2 separate regions of the Homo sapiens genome follow, and region 1 is linked to region 2. The links are contacts of gene promoters, found by promoter capture Hi-C in blood cells and fetal thymus (Javierre and others, 2016). All regions are on one chromosome and are shown on one strand. The core of a region is centred on a gene start or on the middle of the fragment in contact, and the rest is flanking DNA. Distances in the headings are between cores, read along the strand shown. Region 1 overlaps GPRIN3 (GPRIN family member 3). Region 2 holds the start of GPRIN3 (GPRIN family member 3).

Region 1 (2,700 bases), core at 182-2,681, 45 kb before region 2:
TTAAAGTGTTGTAAAAGAAACAAAACACAACCCCCGCCCCCCAATGTCCTATAGAAGTACAGAGGATTTGTCATTTTATTCAGCACAGATCTTAAATTAGAGTGGAGAATCCTAAGCTTTGTAAGACGTATTTAATATGATCAAGAGGAGCTAGATGTTAATCTAGGGTAGAGTTTCTCACCCTGGAACTATCGACATTTTGGACCAGATAGCTTGTAGTGGGGAAGGGAAGAAAGGAGGATTGTCCTATGCACAGTAGGATGTTTAGCAGCGCAATGCTGGCCTCCGCTCCCCAGATCCCAGTAGTGCCCCTACTTCCAGCTGTGACAATAAAAAATGTCTCCAGACATTTCTGGGAGGACGTAATTGTCCCTGATTGAAAGAACCACTGATCCAGGAGGTGAGCATATTTACCTTTGATAGACAGAAATCTCCTTAGAATGAATGCCTGTGAGTTGATGTAAGATAACTTATTCCAGCTGGATATGACTTAATGATATAGTTTTCGGCTCTCAAGTCAAAGAGAGCACTTCTCATACTCTACCTGTGAGAATGCAAGTTAGTATAATTCCTATAAGGAACAATTTGGCAATGTTTATCAAAAATGCCAGTTTGTATACACTGACTCTGCAATTCCACCTCAGGTACTAATGTTGTAAGTAAACTAAATAAATGTGCTAATTGATATATGCACAAGGTTTTTCACTACATGAAATAACAACAGATTAGAAGCAATTTAAATGTCCATTAATAAGAAGTTAGTTATAAAAATTATGCTATTTTGATGAAATGAATACTAAGCAGCCATACTCAGTAACGAGGAAGCTCTTTAAGAATTGATATGGGGCTGGGTGAGGTGGCTCCAGCTGTAATTCTAGGACTTCGGGAGGCTGTAGGGGGGTGGATAGCCTGAGCTTAGGAGTTCAAGACCAGCCTGGGCAACATGGTGAAACCCCGTCTCTACTAAAAATACACACACACACACAAATTAGCCTGGCATGGTGGCACGCGCCTGTGGTCCCAGCTACTTGGTTAGGAGGCTGAGGTGGTGGAACTGCTTGAGCCTGGGAGGCAGAGGTTGCAGTGAGTTGAGATGCTGCCACTGCACTCCAGCCTAGATGACGGAGTGAGACCCAGTCTCAAAAAAAAAAAAAAAAAAAGAATTGATATGGAATAATCTCCAAAATACATTTTTAAGTAAAACAGCAACTAAAACAAAACAAAAATCCAATAATAATAATAAAATTTCAAGATACTGGCATATTTTGTATGCTACCATTTGTATTAAGAAGAGAAAAATGAGTATCTTTGCTTGTAGACATATAAAATATTGCTGCAAGGATAAATAAAAAATTGCTATCAGAGAAGGAAGATGGTGCTTGGGGGACAGAATGGATGGAACATTTTTCGCTTAGTATCCTTTTGTATTTTTGGAATTTTAAACTATATGAACTTATTACCTACTCAAAAATAATAAAAAAAATGTAAGGCCTGGTGCTCCTCACCTAGGCAAAACTGAGCAAGCATGCACGCTGACGTTTCTGTCAGTGATGATGGATTCGTGCTGGTCTACGCTTCAACACCCTTTCCATCTGCTCTTTGCTGTGCAGGGAGGTCAGCCTGGCCATGCAACTAAGGAAACCATAATTTTCTTATCCATCTTGGTTATCTAAAAGCTCCAAGCTGGGCAATGTGAGTAGTTTTCAAAGTCAACAGCTGAGAAATGCTTTTTAAAGTAATGTCTGTTAGGCCACAAAATAAAAGTTTACTTAAGTTACTTTTCCCAGACTTTCTGACTCCTGTTTATTAGTTGATTTCTCTGCCCTGCCCACCCTCCGCCATCCCCCTACTTTCCTATTCCTGGTAGCTCTAGCAGTTGGTTTTCAAATCATACATTCCTCAAACAATAAATCCAAAGATGACCTAAGACAAACAACTACGAAATTAAGTCAAAACATCAATAAAAGTGATTAAGAAAAAAATGCATTTATTTTTATTTCTCTAGTCTATATTTTGGGAATTGACTAAATGTCAACATACAAAATTTAGAAAACATATTTTAATTGCCAGTTATCAAATCCACGTCTTCTGTCAGTACTGGGCTTAACTGAATTTATCATATCTCATGAAAGCACAATATTATACTAACTGGTCTCATTCAGTCAATGCTAAACACTTACCCGCCACTTGCTGCTAATGTTACCTTTGTAAAACAAACAAATATGCCACTTCTCTGTGCATAAAAAATTTTAATCGTTCCCCATTCACCTACAAAATAAGATGTATACATTTGGGCACAATTTAAAAAAATGTCCTTCACTATCTGATCCATTTCATTTTCTGATTGGTATGTTCTCTTATTGAGATAGCCAGGTGGGAGGGGGTCCCCGGAGAATCTCCATCCAGCCTGTGCACTGGCGGGAATGTGCACTGGGGTGGAGGCCCAGGAAGTCTGCACCATTTGCTGCAGGGAGGAGCCTGGCCCCTCCTCTTCCTGTGTGAAACCTGGGATTCAAATGGCCAGGCAGGAAGCACTGTAGCAGGGACTCAGGCCTTTGGAGTGTCCCTGTTTCCCCTTCTTCCTTTTCACTCAATAAAACCCTGTATTACTAACCATTCAAATTGCCTGTGAGCCTGAATTTTCGTGGCTGTAGGACAAAGTACCCCATCTTTAGCTGAACTAAGGAAAAGTCCTGCAGC
Region 2 (2,700 bases), core at 171-2,670:
AAAAGCCCACGCAGGAGATGTGTAAATATTTCATGAAGCAAAGCCTTAATCAACCCTCTCTCCCAAATCTTGCTGGTGTTGTAAACACTTCAGTTTCTTCTAGTCCCACCATGACCCAGATACCTTGCAAAAACAAAATAAAAACATAGTCCAATGGATCTTTAAACAAATGTGTTGTGAAAATATTTAGATGGAGCATACCCAAGTACCGCTTTAACCAAGAGGAAGAAGACACCTTACTCAAAGGTGGGTGCTTCTTGAGTGACTGCTCAGAGCTCTGTTTCTCCCCTCCCCCTCCAAGCCCTTGCCTTTTGCCCACCTCCTCGGCTGCTTTGTGGACATTCACATCGTCTTAACCTTGAACTGCCTACACCCCAAGCGGTGATTTCTCCCAATGGCCCTCCAGAAAGCCCTTGAAACCTGGTCTGGATTCGATGCCTTCCCATCACCCAAAATTCACTTCCCAGTGGCATATTAAGTACCTCTCCTTTTTTCCCTCTTTCACTGTCCATTATTGCGTCTGAAATGATGCCTACATCGTTTCCATCTGCCTGGAGAGCATGAAGATCTTCTGTGTGTGTTGGCTGACAGGCTCCTTCAGACCTCTTCTAAAGCCCATCTTGAAAGAACCGTTTATCACCTCTAGTCTCTACCCTGATTTAATGTGGTTCCAAAGTTCGCCTCTATTAGTGAACATGTCTCTACAACGATTTCCCTTTATCAACCCCTGCCCGCCCTTCCTCTTCTTTCTGCCTACCTCAAGAAAACCTATTTACATATGCATTTATGTATGTGTGTGTATATACACACACATACATACATCCATATGTAATATATATTTCTATGTTTTGACCTTAAAGGGGATAAGCATAGGAAAATGAGACAAATGTCACACACACACACACACACACACACACACCCCTCATATTCGGATATTCGCAGTGTGCAGACCCGATTGATTATAAATTTCCCTGCCCACGATCAGCAGGCGTCTTCTCCCATTTACCTTCAAAGCCAGAGCCAAAGAGAGCAATGACCTTGCAGAGAAATTCATCACCTGCGAGAAAGACTGCCCCTCCTAGAGCGCAGGATGGGACAGAGACAAGAGCAACAGGCAAAGGATCCCTGTGCAAAATGTGGGACCGAATCCCTTCCGCATCCCTACAGAGCACACCACCAGGCTCCGGTCCCCCGCGCTGGCCGCCAGGCGGAGGTGCGCAGGGGGCGTCTCCTACCTGCTCTGCCCGGCTCCGCGGCGCGGCGGGGCCACTGCCTGCGCTGTGGCGGGGGCTTCCCGTCGCATATCCCAAGCACCGTCTCTCGGCGCCACACCGATGGCTCCGGCGGGCCCGCGAGCTGAGGTCCTTCTCAGCCCGGTCCCGGAGCGAGCTCCGTGCGTTCAGGAACTGAAATTACTATGCCAAGAGCAGAGGCGGCGCGCAGCAGTCGGGCGTAGACCGAGGGGGCTGCCCCCACCGCGGGGCTGCAGACGCCGCCGCCGCCCCCGCCGGGCGCAGAGCCAGTTTGGAGGTGAGAGTTCACTTGCCCGACTGTTCATCCGTCAGGCCCGGGGTGTACCCATCTGTCCAGCGCTGCCCAGCCTGAGCATCCGAGAGAGGGGCGACAGCTTTGCAGGCGGCGGCGGCGGCAGCAGCAGCGGCGGCAGCAGGAGGCCGAGCTCCGCCCCCTCCAAACCCCCTCCCCCGCCTTCCCGGTCCTGGGGGAAAGTGTTGCAGCCCAGGCTGCTGAGCGCCGGGCCGGGAGCTAGGAGGGGTCTGGTGGGTTGTGGTTCTGCACCCCTGGAGACCAGAGACAGATGGAAAGTTAAGAAGGGATTAAGGAAGAGGGCTGGGGACCCAGAGCGATTTAGCAGGCATTCTGGCCCTTGCTCCCTCCCACAGGTCACCAGACTCCATGGCTGAGTCTAGACTCTAGCAGAAGGTTTCCAATAAAGCCACGTGCAGTGGAGATCTGAAAGCAAGATCATCCGATAAGTAATATGTTTTGCAAAATGTACAGTATCCTGCGTATTCGGAGAGGCACTGCTGACAGTGTTCCTGTCCCCATCCCCTTCCCGCTACCCCATGGGCTTGGAGGGCTTTGAGGGCTTTGGAAATCTTCCCTGTTGAGCAGCTCCAGAATCCTGAATGGATGTGTAGTATGGTTAGCAGCTGTAGATGGTGCAAAATGATACGATGAAAAGAGCTTCATTATTAACTGGGTATTTGTTGGAAGGCTCTGTGAAAAATGCCTTACATACAGCCTCAGCCTCTTTAATTCTTACTACAACCCATTGAGGTGCCTTACCATGTGGACGAGGAAACAGGCTTATATGATCTAAACACTTTGCTTGAGGTCACACAGTAGTAACCTGCTCAGCTGGGATTCAAACCAATCCAAAATATATCCTCTCATCTAGTACACAGGACTCACCTAGGGGGTCTTGTTAAAATGCTGATTGTGATCCAATAGGTCTGGGGTAGGGACTGAGGAAACGCTTTTTTAGTTTTTTGTTGTTGTTGTTTTTTGTTTTTTGCTTCGTCTCCTAGGCTGGAGTGCAGTGGCGCGCTCTCGGCTCACTGCAAGCTCCGCTTCCCGGGGTCAAGCGATTCTCCTGCCTCAGCCTCCCAAGTAGCTGGGATTACAGGCGCCCACCACCACGCCCGGCTAATTTTTGTATTTTTAGTAGAGACAGGGTTT

The links. The method cuts DNA at HindIII sites, captures the fragments that hold promoters and counts their contacts. A CHiCAGO score of 5 or more calls a contact.
Region 1: a contact is called between a fragment that was not itself captured here and the fragment with the promoter of GPRIN3 in region 2, in 5 of 17 cell types (naive CD8 T cells, non-activated CD4 T cells, activated CD4 T cells and 2 more). The highest score is 7.6, in naive CD8 T cells.

Annotation. Positions count from the first base shown.
Region 1 is chr4:89,260,985-89,263,684 of GRCh38, forward strand. All of the region lies in intron 1 of GPRIN3 (GPRIN family member 3), which reads right to left. Among named protein-coding and RNA genes, the nearest start is that of GPRIN3, 45 kb to the right of the region's middle. The HindIII fragment of the contact is 2,635 bases long and covers 115-2,700 here.
Region 2 is chr4:89,306,380-89,309,079 of GRCh38, forward strand. GPRIN3 (GPRIN family member 3) reads right to left here and starts at 1,421. Exons shown (of 2, transcript NM_198281.3): 1 at 1,236-1,421. RefSeq lists silencers at 1,371-1,420, 1,431-1,500. The HindIII fragment of the contact is 16,857 bases long and covers 1-2,700 here.